Linked DNA regions of Homo sapiens: all the other regions are linked to region 3. Evidence: promoter capture Hi-C in human tissues and cell types (Jung and others, 2019). All regions are on one chromosome and are shown on one strand. The core of a region is centred on a gene start or on the middle of the fragment in contact, and the rest is flanking DNA. Distances in the headings are between cores, read along the strand shown.

The links. Contacts are between HindIII fragments. The study calls those that stand out against the background at their distance.
Region 1: a fragment that was not itself captured here is called in contact with the fragment with the promoter of LHX5 in region 3 in 1 of the 25 tissues and cell types used here (stomach).
Region 2: a fragment that was not itself captured here is called in contact with the fragment with the promoter of LHX5 in region 3 in 1 of the 25 tissues and cell types used here (H1 embryonic stem cells).

What each region holds. Positions count from the first base shown.
Region 1 is chr12:113,616,275-113,620,296 of GRCh38, forward strand. No RefSeq gene overlaps it. Among named protein-coding and RNA genes, the nearest start is that of LHX5-AS1, 150 kb to the left of the region's middle. The HindIII fragment of the contact is 6,396 bases long and covers 1-4,022 here.
Region 2 is chr12:113,642,407-113,646,299 of GRCh38, forward strand. It overlaps LOC105369990 (a long non-coding RNA gene), which reads left to right. Exons shown (of 4, transcript XR_945348.1): 2 at 779-894; 3 at 1,598-1,688; 4 at 2,069-2,109. Among named protein-coding and RNA genes, the nearest start is that of LINC01234, 130 kb to the right of the region's middle. The HindIII fragment of the contact is 7,423 bases long and covers 1-3,893 here.
Region 3 is chr12:113,470,236-113,474,218 of GRCh38, forward strand. LHX5 (LIM homeobox 5) reads right to left here and starts at 1,636. Exons shown (of 5, transcript NM_022363.3): 1 at 1,091-1,636. The coding sequence starts at 1,263. LHX5-AS1 (LHX5 antisense RNA 1) reads left to right here and starts at 1,768. Exons shown (of 2, transcript NR_126425.1): 1 at 1,768-1,847. RefSeq lists an enhancer at 718-1,518. The HindIII fragment of the contact is 9,096 bases long and covers 1-3,983 here.

The sequences.
Region 1 (4,022 bases), core at 503-3,002, 150 kb after region 3:
AGGGCTTGGGAAGAACCAGGCTCCTAAAATTTGACTTGAGCATCCATTGGTGAAGCTGCTTTCCTAGAAAAGAACTGGGTCCAGAGCCTCCTGAAAACTTGAGGTCTCTGTGTAAAGGTGGAGCAGGGGCCATCCCTCCGTGGGGACTGAGGCTGTCTTCTACATATGGCTTAGAGGTCTTATGGTTTCTTTGAGGTCACCTCTGGGCTGGTGGATGGAGCTCTGGGAGGAGCCAGAAGGCTGCTGGTGATAAAGAATACAAACTATGGCAGCAACTGGTCAAGGACACCCAAGTCCTGCATGGCTGCTGGTGGCAGCATCTGGGGAGAGAGGCTGAGCACAAGGTGGTCCCCTAAACTGATGGGCACAGGGCAGCGAGGGGATGGAGAAGGGGGAATGATGGGGATGCAAGAAGTCAGCCCAGCTGCTGAGAGCATCTCTGTCCTCTCTGTACCTCTCTTGCAGAAGGAAGGCCCCCTCGCCGGCCTTCATTCTGTTCCTTGCATGCCCCAAGCTTCCTCCCGCTGTGGGGTCTTTGTCCTGTGGTTCCTTCTGCCTTGAACACTGTCCTCTGAGATCATTGCTGGCTCCTTCACATCATGTGAGTCTCTGCTCAAATGTCATCCTCTCAGATCAGTGAATCCAAAGTCATCTCCCAGCCAGTCACTTCCTAGAACATCCCCTTTCCACTTCCTTTGTAGCCCTCAGCACTATCTGCAGGGACCTCCCTCATTTTCTGTGTGACTTTGGGCAGTTTCTTAACCTCTCTGTGTCACATTTTTCTTATCTGTAAAATGGTCATACTAGTACCCATCTCATGAGATTGTAATACTGATTAAGTGAGATGATGTATGTAAAGTGCTCAGAACACTGCCTGGTATGGAGTAAGCAGTATAGAAGTGTTAACAATTATTATTATTATTATTATTATTATTATTGTGTTTGATCCATTGTCCTCCACCCCCAACTAGAACATCATCTTAATGAGGACACATACTTTGTCTGTCTTGTATTCTAATGCCTGGTACAGGGCTTGGTTCATTGTAGGTGCCCAAGAAATATTTTTTGAGTGAATGAATGAATGAATGAATTTCTAAAAGAAACTAAGCCACAGTTTTAATGAAACCAGGCAATGGGTATTAAAAGCATTGGGGTTTGGGTAGGCTCTTGGATACATACATGGAGGTAGGCACAGTGAAGGCAGGAAGCTGAGGCACCTCCAGATGCCTGTCCCCGGGGCTGGGCCCTTCTTTCAGGTAAGGGGGCAGGAGGAGGAAGGGGCTTTCAGGAACATGGCGGGAGGTGCAATGCAGATTTGGAGGGGGTTCTGATGGGGCTGCATAGTTCCCCCCTGTTCTAGGAGCATTTGCTGTCTCAGGCATGCAGTGGATCTATGATCTGGAAGGGACTCCAGAAGGAGAGAAGTGAACTCAGGAACCTGTTTATCCTCTGCCCACCTGCCATCTTGCAGAAGAGGAGGCTGAAGTCCAGCCCCAGGATTAACACAGCATCCTGGCAGCAGGGCTGGCTCAGTCCTTCCCTGGCCCCACATCTCTGGTGTGCCTGGTCTTCATACAGCATTGGTACCTTCCCAGAATTGAGCTCCTCCCTTTTCACCCTGGTCGTGGGTAGTTTAGGGGTCTATTTGGAAGATGAGACCTGAGGCTCTGTACAGGAAGCCCCGTGGTCCCTGAAAGGCCAAACCTTGGACTCCCGGAAGATCTTCTCAAGTGCTGGAATCCATCTGCTGACATCTGTCCTCCGGGCCTTCACTGTGACCAGACTCCAGGAGACAGCAATGGGGCAGGGCCTGGAGTGGGAGGGGCCTGTGCCAGCCCAGGTCACAGGCCGTAACGGTGATGACCCCTCTGCTCCAAGTGACAATAGCAGCAACAGTAACAACATAACAGCACTGATTTAAAAATTCATAATACTGGGCCAGGCATAGTGGCTCACACCCATAATCCCAGCATTTTGGGAGGCTGAAGCAGGAGGATCACTTGAGCCCAGAAGATCAAGGCCAGCCTGGGCAACATAGTGAGACCCCTTTTCTAAAAAATTTTAAAAATTAGCCAGGTGTGGTGCTGTGCACCTGTAGTCTTAGCTACTCATGAGGCTGGGGTGGGAGGATTGCTGGAGCCCAGGCGGTCGAGGCTGTAGTGAGCACTGTTTGTGCCACTGCATTCCAGCCTGGGCAACAAAATAAGATCCTGTCTCAAAAAAAAAAAAAAAAAAGATATTTACTGAGCACTTACACTGTGCCTGGCACTGTCCTCAGGGCTTTAAAATATTACTCATTTATTTCTCACAAAACGTATGACATGTATGTTAGATAAGAGAATCGTGGCAAAGTCAAAGTCCCTGAATTGGATAATTACATGGGGGTGATGTTGTGATTAGGAAATGCACCCTAAGAACTTCATGGTGAGATGGTACAAGGCTACAACTTGCGAATGGCTCAACAAAATGAAGTAGATAGGTATGCAGATAGATGAATTCATATGGAGACATATGTGTCAACATATTAGCAATTGGGGAATACAGATAAGAATATACAAGTGTTCATGGATCTTGCAACTTTTTTATAGGTTTTAAAAATTTTTTAATAAAAAGGAAAACCAAAAATGTAAGGGCAACACTAATATTGTCCCCATTTTACAGATGGGGGAACTGAGGCACAGAGAAGTTAGCGCCCGTAGTAGATGCTTTAGAAATATCAGCTGTTTTATTATTTACATATGATGAGGCCAAGGCTCAGAGACACTCTGTAACCTGTCCACCATCGCACAGCAAGAAAGTGGGTGTTTGCCTTTGAAGGGTCCTATCTCTCTGACCTGCTAAGGTTACGTGGACCCCAGGCTGGCTTGGCTGGGGTAGGGGCGAGTGAGTGGACTCTCCCCATGCCTTCAGATCAGGCCCCTAGTGTCCTCCCAGCCTTCTCGGGCCCCTTAAGACAGGGCGAATCTTTGTGGAGCTCCCTTTCCTCCCTCTCTCCTTGCCCCTGCAGGAACCTCTCCTGGGAACCCTTACAGCTCTCCCTGATCTCCCCCATCCTCTGTGCACCAGCAGCCCCATCAGAGGGGCCTGGCAGGGTGGGGATATTTGCCAGCAAATACAAGCTATGTGTTAAACACTCCGCCAGCAGCTTCTCCACACCCGGCAATGTTTGCTCAGCAAACATCACTAATTTTCTGGTTTCTTGGGCTGTGCTGGAGCCCCTAGAGCAAAGCCTGTTTTTCATCAGCTCCTCTGACAGTTCCCTGTCCCCATGGCCACCAACCAGGCTCCGGGGCACAGAGTTGAGACCTCCTCCCAACACAAAGTCCCAAGAAGATCTGTGGGGAGAGAGAAGGCTTCTCTGGTTTTCTGGGACAGCATCTTTAACCAGAATTCCTCTAGTGCTGGGATTCTGGGATGTAGGAGAGGGGCTTCAATTATTTCTTGACTTTGAGTGTGTTTGGGGAGTTCTTTTCCTCTCTTCTGGTCTCTCTCCCATCCATCCTCCAAGATTCAGGAAGCCAGTTTATTCCAGTTCATATTCATCCGTCCATCCATCCACCCATCCATCCATCCAACCATACATACATACATTCAGGTTTTTTTTGAGCACCCATTTTGTGTCAGGGAGGGCTGGGTGCTGGAGAAACAGCAGTGCATATGACCAACCTGACCAGCATGATTTCTTGCCCTCCTGAAGCTGACATAATACAGCGGTTAGAGGCCAGACGCAGCGGCTCATGCCTATAATCCCAGCACTTTGGGAGGCTGAGGTAGGTGGATCACCTGAGGTCAGGAGTTCAAGACTAGCTTGCCAACATGACAGAGGGAAACCCCTTCTCTACTAAAAATACAAAAATTTGCTGGGAGTGGTGGTGGGTGCCTGTAATACCAGCTACTTAGGAGGCTGAGGCAGGAGAATTGCTTGAACCCAGGAGGCAGAGGTTGCAGTGAGCCGAGATCGTGCCACTGAATTCCAGCCGCGACAGAGTGAGACTCTTTCTCGACAACAACAACAAAAAAGC
Region 2 (3,893 bases), core at 1,209-3,708, 170 kb after region 3:
CCTTCTGCCTTGGCCTCCAGACTAGCTCTGCCTAACTAGATGAACTGAATTTTATCTCTAAATATTCTTTTCTTCCTTCCCCGCTCCCTCGCTCCCTTCTTTCCTTCCCCCTGCCTCCCTCTCTCCCTTCCTTCCTTCCTTCCTTCTTTCCTTCCTTCCTTCCCTCCCTCTCTCCTTCCTTCCTTACCTCTCTCCTCTCTCTCCTTCCTTCCTTACCTCTCTCCTCTCTCTCCTTCCTTCCTTCTCCCCTCCATCCCTCCTTCCTTCCTTCCTCTTCCTTCCTTTGCTCCCTCCCTCCCTTGCTCCCTCCCCCTCCCTCCCTTCTTTCCTTCCTTCCTTCCTCCCCTTCCTCCCTCCTTCCTTCTTTCCCTTCTTCCTTCCCTCCCTCAAACAGTAGACCTTGAGTTTCAGGACATGGTTTTAGTTGTTACCTGGTTCGAGCCTGGCTTTTGCAGGCTGTGTGACACTGGGTAAGTGGCTTCACCTCTCTGAGCCTCAGTTTCCCCATCTATAAAATGGAGACAGTAACAGAGCCCACTTCCAGCTGTATTATGAAAACTAGATGAAGAAATTAATGAACGTGCTTGGCACATAGTAAGGGTGGAATCATTGCTGCCTGTTATTTTTCTAAATTATTATTTATTGCATGCATCTCATGTACCAGTGGGGCACAGAGACGAATCGCACAGCCTGTGCCCCCAAAAGTGCTCACTGACATGACAGCTCTCATAAGCAACCCCAAGTTATGTTTTTAAAATAGTATTTTATGTCTGGGCAGGAATACAGATATGTTCACAGCGCTCAAAAGAAAGGTGATACTGAACTTATGAAGCAGATAAATTAGGGGTGATTATTCTCATTACAAAAGGATACGCTACAGGGATTCTTTAAGTGGTAAGTCCTCTAATACTGGAAGCGTGGAAGCCTTAGCTGGAGCTCTCTCTGCCCTGGCTCCCCCACAGAGCAGTTAATGGTGGTGAAATGAGAGAGCCTGGCCTGAGACAGGAACTCCAAATTTGCACCTCATCACTGACTGATCAGGCAGCCTGGGGCAGGCAGTGTCCCCTCTTGGACTCTCAGTTTCCCCAATGACTGGACGACTGGATGGGATTGCATCTCTGCAGCGTCCCCATCCCCGTCTGAGCCCAGATGACAGCTTTGCTACTGGCCTCTCTGCTTCCACTCCTCCCCCAATCCCTTCTCCATATCACAGCTGCAGGGATCTTCTAAAAGCCCAAATCAGTTTCCCCTACATAAAACCCTCCAGTGGCTTCCCCTAACCCTCAGGACCTTACCCTCGCTTCCAGCCCAGCTGATCTCATCTGTTCCCCTTTCCACCTTGCTCCTGCACCTCTAGCCTCGCCAGTGCATTCCTACCCCAGGGCCTTTGCACTTGCTGGTCCTTCCTGGAACTTTGCCTCAGGCCCCTTTTCTTGTTACTAAGTTTCTAGTTGAAATGTCACCATCTTAGGATCCCCCATCTAATAAATATCTAGTACTCACTGGATCATTTTTGTTTTATCTTTATTATCTTAATTGTACTTGGCACTGATATGATCATGTGTCTTTGCTTCTTTAATGTCTTTCATCTACCAAGAATGTTAGCCAAGGACAGAGACTGGGTCTGTCTTCACTGTTGGCTTCTCAGCCCCTTACATGGGAACTGGCACTTAGGAGGGGCTCAGCAGGTATGTGCTGAAGTCATCATTGGACTTCGATGTTTCAATATACTCATTTTAGGTGTGTTTAAGTTTTGTGCAAAGGAGTGAGTGATTGGTTTCCTAACTTTTGGAAAGTAAAGATGATGTGAATCCAGTCATATAGGACCGTCTCCCTGATGCACCTGCGGTCAGGCTGGTGCTGTCTTGGGTCGAAAGCAAAGGAGTGGACTCAGAACCAGCCCCGAGGGGACATGTTACCCCTGGGTGCAAATAGCATCAGGATCTGGGGCTGCTCACCACAGATACCATGATGGAAAAGGTCACCGGCAACTGGCCTGCATGGTTTTCATGTCTTGGCCACGTGGTTCTTTAATTATTTTTATTTTCATTTATTTATTTTGAGACAGGTTCTCTCTCTGTCACCCAGGCTGGAGTGTAGTGACTCAATCATAGCTCACTGCGGCCTCAAACTCCTAGACTCAAGTGATCCTCCCACCTCAGCCTCCCAAGTAGATGGAACTACAGGTATGTGCCATCACACTTAGCTAAGTTTTATTTTTATTTTAAAAATTATTACTATTATTATTATTGTATTTTTTTTGTAGAGACAGGGTTTCACCATGTTGCCAGGCTGGTCTCAAACTCCTGGGCTTAAGGGATCCACCTGCCTCAGCCTCCCAAAGTGCTGGAGTTACAGGCGTGAGCCATCACTCCCAGCCTTTATTTTAATTTTTTTGTAGAGACAAGATCTCACAATGTTGCCCAAGCTTGTCTTGAACTCCTGGCCTCAAATGATCCTCCTGCTTCAGCCTCCTGAGTTGCTGGGATTACAGGCGTGAGCCGCTGCACCCAGCTTTAGTCAACCAAGACAGCAGCAATGCAAAACAAAATGAAGGCGCTCAGAGAGACACAGGGGACATGCCGAGGAGCCCTGGAGGAAGGGGAGAATTATTCTGATGGGAGAGATCTGGAAGGACGAGGCTGGAGTGAGATGGAATGGTGGAACAGCAGGCAGGGGATTGGGCTTGCTGGTACCTGGTTCTGGGAGTGGGGGCTGGGTCTTTTCTTTCAGGTTCCTCTCGTTTGGAATTGATTCTGATGCTCCTAAAAGATGGTTCACCTGATCCCCTTGAAATGATCATACTGAAGTAGGTGCCAGAGGGGACCAATAGTTACCAAGAACTTACCATGTGCTGGACCTACATAAAATATTTCACTTGTGCTGCTTGACTTAATCTTCACATTGGCTGATGCCAGCCAAGTGATGGTATCCTAATTTCAGGGATTCGGAAACAGGCCCAGAGAGGTTGTGACTTTTCTAAGCACACACAGCAAATAAATGCTGAGGCTGGGATTTGAACTCAAGTCTGCCTGGTTTTGGAGCCAGTGCTTGCCGGAGACATCAAGATGCCTCCTGAATTCAAGAAGGGAGGAAGGGTGATGCTGGGTGCTGTGAGAGCAGGGATAAGATTTAGGAGCAGAAGGTACAGTGAAGAGGGGGCCATAGGTGGGGGTTCAGAGGTGGAAGGGAAGAACATTCTGGTCCCAGAGAAGACTCCTGCCTCCAAGCTCCCGGCCCCACTCTACCCAGCCCTCTCTGCCCCTGGCCCGGAGCAGCCCCGGGTGGGGGACGTGGGGAGGAGAACTAAGCATCATGTAATTGCCCTGGCTCTTCTGTGAAATTTGTTTCGGGACACATTAGTTCCAGTGAATTTAGCCGAACAGCGGGGAGCCCTGAGAAATGATTTGCAATTAGCCGCAGCCCCATGGCCCCCCATTGGGATGCGAGGCTTGGGCACTGAGTGGGGAATGGCCAAGGGGATGGAGCCGCCACCCAGTGCCCGTGGAAACGCCAGCAAGCAGGCAGGAGTGGCTGAACTGGTGCATTTCAGACCCGACGTCTCTCTGAGCCTGGCAGAGGCTGACAGGGGCTGAAGTAGAAGCATTTGACCCCCAAACTATCAAGGCCAAGACTTAGCCAGGCCAGAGGGGCATTCGAAATGATCAAATCCAATTCTCCTGCTTTGCAGAGGGGATGCGGGAGGTGAGCATTGCACATGTTCGCCTCTGTGGGGACGGCTCCTGGAGCATCTCCTTGTGATCACTGTGCCGGGTACTTCTCTAATCATAAATCCTCCCCAACAGTTGGGGAGGCAGGGAGATGATGCCCATTTTGCAGGGAAGGAAATGGATGCCCAGAGAGATGAAGGGAATCTTGCCAGGTTAACTGGA
Region 3 (3,983 bases), core at 386-2,885:
TAGGGACCCCACATCTACTCACACCCATGTCTCTAAACAGGGCGAATTTGGGTGACATTGATGTAGTGAGGGCATTAGAAGCCATAAGTCACTTTTGGCCTTATCCGGCAGCGTAATTGGCCATATGCACCTTATCAAAAATCATTAGGCACTTTGCAAGCACTGCTACATTAGGGGCATCGGGCCTCCGGGTCCAGGGAGTTAACACGTGTAAAGGAGCGGCTGACATTTTCTCCCATTCAAATTCTCAGTGCGGAGTCGCTGGGGCCGGCAGGCTGCCTTTCTCTGTGGCGTGATTCACGCCCCCATTCCTCAGCGCGGGGAATTCCTGTTCACAAAGCCGGCTCTGGGTGCCCAGAGGAAACAGGTAGGGCTCAGCTGCCCCAAACTCCAGTGGCTTCCAGGCTGGGGAAACTGAGGCCCAGAGAGGTGATCTGCCCTGGCCAGCCACAGGGCCCACAGGGGTAGGGGGGCTGGGGAGGTGCCACAGCCCAGTCTAGACCCCAGAGGTCCTGATTCTCAGCCTCGATTTCGTTTCTACTTTTCAACATGGGAGGAAATGTTTAAGGGGTTGGGAGGTGGGTGGGGGAGGTTCTCTCCTCCCATCACCAGGGGAGACCTTCCTCGCTGGGCCCCCTCTGGAGCTGAGAAGTTTCTGTTTGGGATTGCGGCCGATGGGCTCACACATTCTGCCTGGAGCGAGAAGCCTTCAGGCGTCTCTAACTCATGCAAAAATCCTTCCTCTCTCTCGGGACGGGGCTTGAAGCTTCTGTCTTGGGGTTGCAGCTGCTTGGAAGGGGCGGAGAGGAGTGGATAGCAAGTTTGTCAGGGCTTCCTCCCTCTGCCCCGCCAGCGCTCTGAGCCGGCCTCGAGCCAACGTGAGGCAGCGAAGCAGCGTCCTTCTTCCTCCGCCTGGGCTCGGGACCTTTCCTGGACCAAGGACAGGAGGAGAGCAAAGTGCTGCCCGCTCCCCATCTAAGCTTGTGATCCGGGGAGGCTGGGATGGGGATGGGGGTATCCCCTTCCCCAGCGCCCCAGTGGAGCGCGCGCAGGGTGGGCGCGCAGGCAGCAGAGCGGCGCGGCCTCTTACCTGAAAAAGTCATTTTTGCAGTAGAGCTTGCCCTCGCGCGAGAAGCACTTCTCCGAGAGGTTGGTTTTGCACTCGCAGCACTGAACACATTTGATGTGCCACGCGCGGTCCAGCACGTTCAGCAGAAAGCGGTCGAGGATGGGCCGCTCGCAACCGGCGCAGTGCACCATCATAGCCCCGCGCCCCGGCGGCTTCGGCCGCCTTGCCCTCCCTTTGGGCCCCTGGCCCTCGGGCCTGCCGGGCCCTCCGCTGCCCTTCGCCTCTTGTCTCAGCAGCTGCAGGGCGAGTCTGGTCCGGACCAAGACTCAGCCGGTCCAGTCCTTGGGCAATCTCTGGCCTGGCGCTGGGCTGCCCGGAGTGGGGTGGTGGGGGGCGGGTGGCGTTCACAACCTCATGCCACGGGCCGCACGCCCCGGCGCCTGTTCCGGGCTTCCCCAGGTATCTCGGGTGGCTGCTGGCCTCGGCGCTGCGGAGCGGCTTTCCCCGGTGGCGGAGGCGCCGGCACTTTCCCCCACTTTCAAGCGGTCCGGATCCTCATCTTTGTCTGGTCGCCGCGTAATTCGCGCATCCTTATTCAGATTTGGTGACGTGGCGCTGCACGTAGGGGGCCCAGCGGCCAATGGGCGCACCGTGGCCATGGCAACCTCTTAAATTTATAGCATATCTAAATTGGCTACAGCGTTGCTGTCCGGACAGAGCAAAAAAAACAAGGCATCAGTATTGTTGAGTATTAGCTTGTACCTGGTTCGGAGGCTAAGTAAGTATTTACCTTCCAGTTTGGGGCTGACGGGGCGGGGGCAGCGCGAAACGAAAATTGCGTCTCTCTTCCTCTCTCTTTCTCCTCACAAATATTTGGGGGTCACGGGTTCCAAGGCCTAGTCCGGGAGGTACCCCTGCCCCCTTCGCCATCCCTGGAACTTGCAGAAGTTGCCCCACGCCCCACACTTCGCTCCCCTTCTCCAGCCCAGCCAGCCCAGATTGGATTCCCCCACCCCCGCGCCCCCTCTGCGCCCTGAAGCTGCGTCAGCGCGGTTCTCCCGGCTCCTGGAGCCGGCCCCGGCTTCTTTTTGTCATACACGGGGCTGGGGCCCAGCCGGGCCTTTCTCATGGAGAGAGCTAGTGGAGACCGCGCGGCCTGGGTAGTTTTCCCCGCCCGGCCGCCGAGCCCAGGCCCAGGCCCAGGGTGGGGAGGCGGGGGAGCAGGAGGGGTGCCATTTGGCCTGGTCCCGAACTCCAGAGTTTCAGGCCTGAGTGCGCTGCTCACGGGGCTCTGAGGGAGATGTGGACAGGGGGAGATTCAGGGTGGACGGGTCTTCCCGCAGACAGCTCGGAGGTGGCACTCACCACGTCTCTCCTTTCCTCGCTGCACCTTCCAGATTCCAGGTCAGCCTATGGGGCACTGTGGTGAGTGGGTCGTACGGCTGAGGCGGGGGACACCAGCGACTATGAGAGCGCTGTTTGTATTCACGCCGTGCGGGCTGGGTGTGCAAGTTCGTCCCCTCATTGGGCGCAGGAGAAGCGGCGCACGTATGTTCCGTGCTCGGCAGGGCGCCCAGAGTGTGAGGAGAGAGAGTGTGTGTGTGTTAAGGGGGAGGGGGGATGTTGGCAGGTGTGCGTGAGGAGGGGGTGTGTGGGTCTGAGTAGGAGAAGGGACCAGGCCTCCTTTCCCCTGGGGCCAGCGTGGCCACCAGGGATCCTAGTTGGGGAAGCCGGGAATGGGCAACCAGGATTTGCCTTTCGCTTCTGGAAAGGGGGCTGAGGGAGTAGGGCCTGGGACCAAGGGCTGGAGCTGGAGGGGTTTGTGCCAGCACTTGGCTGTGAATGTTTGTTTGGGTGTGTTTCCTGAGCTTGTTAGTGTATACTCGCTGTTTGAGAATTCCATTTTTGCATCTGTTTATTGTGTTAGTACCATCAATCCTGTGAGTAAATTTCTGCGTGTGCGTTTTCGTGTGTGCAGATTCGTGTGTTTGTAATTGTGTATGGTCCTGCTAATGTTTGTGTTTATCACTGTGTGCACTTTTATTTTTGTTGGTCTGTGCCTATGTGTGTTTGCTTATTTGAGGATGCATAAATGTGAGGGTGTTTTCATGTGTACGTGTGCATTCACGTAAGAGTGTTTGTGTCTGTGTTTGCAAGCATTGATGTGAAGGTGTACTTTGAAAAATCTGAATGTGTGTGTTTGTGTGTAGGTGAGGGCGTGCATGCTTGAGACCCTGTGTGTATGAGACTGAGCTGGCTTGGTTGTGTTTGTGAGTGCAGAATTCTGAAGAGCTATGTTTGTGTGCCAGTCGCTGTGTGTGTGTGCCTGCAAATGTGTGTATTTGTGCAAACAGTAGTTTTTTGTTTATGCAACTCCTGTAGGCTTTTGTGTGTGTGTGTGTATGTGTGTGTGAGGGGGTTATGTTTGTATTTGTGTTTGTGTGTGTACTCCTAGCTGCGCTTACCTTTGTGGATTCGGAGGTTGAGGGAGCAGGATTTGTGGATGCCTGTGTTGGGGCTCAGGGATGCCCACTTGTCCCCCTTCCTCTCAGGCCTAGCACTGTCCCCCACAGTATCTAGGGGAGGTGATCTTGCTAGGGACAGGGAATTGGTGAGTGCTGGTTACAGAGTGGAGCATTGACTCACCAGCCAGCCCGCTGGAAAAGGAATCCCTAACCCGGGCAGCTTCTGCTTATTGGTGCTGTTACCTGACCCTCTAGCTTGTCAGGGGACAGGCATCTACAGAGCATAGTAGTAACGCTGGTTAGAGCCCAGCTCAACCAGGAACAGGCAGGATGAATCTCACTTGGCCTCCTAGGCTCGGCCATGAGAGACTTCAAATGGAACTGCAGTTTCTGGCAGCACTTGGCCCTGCCCGCCTGGGCTTAAAGGATCCTTGAGCTCTGGCAGGGGC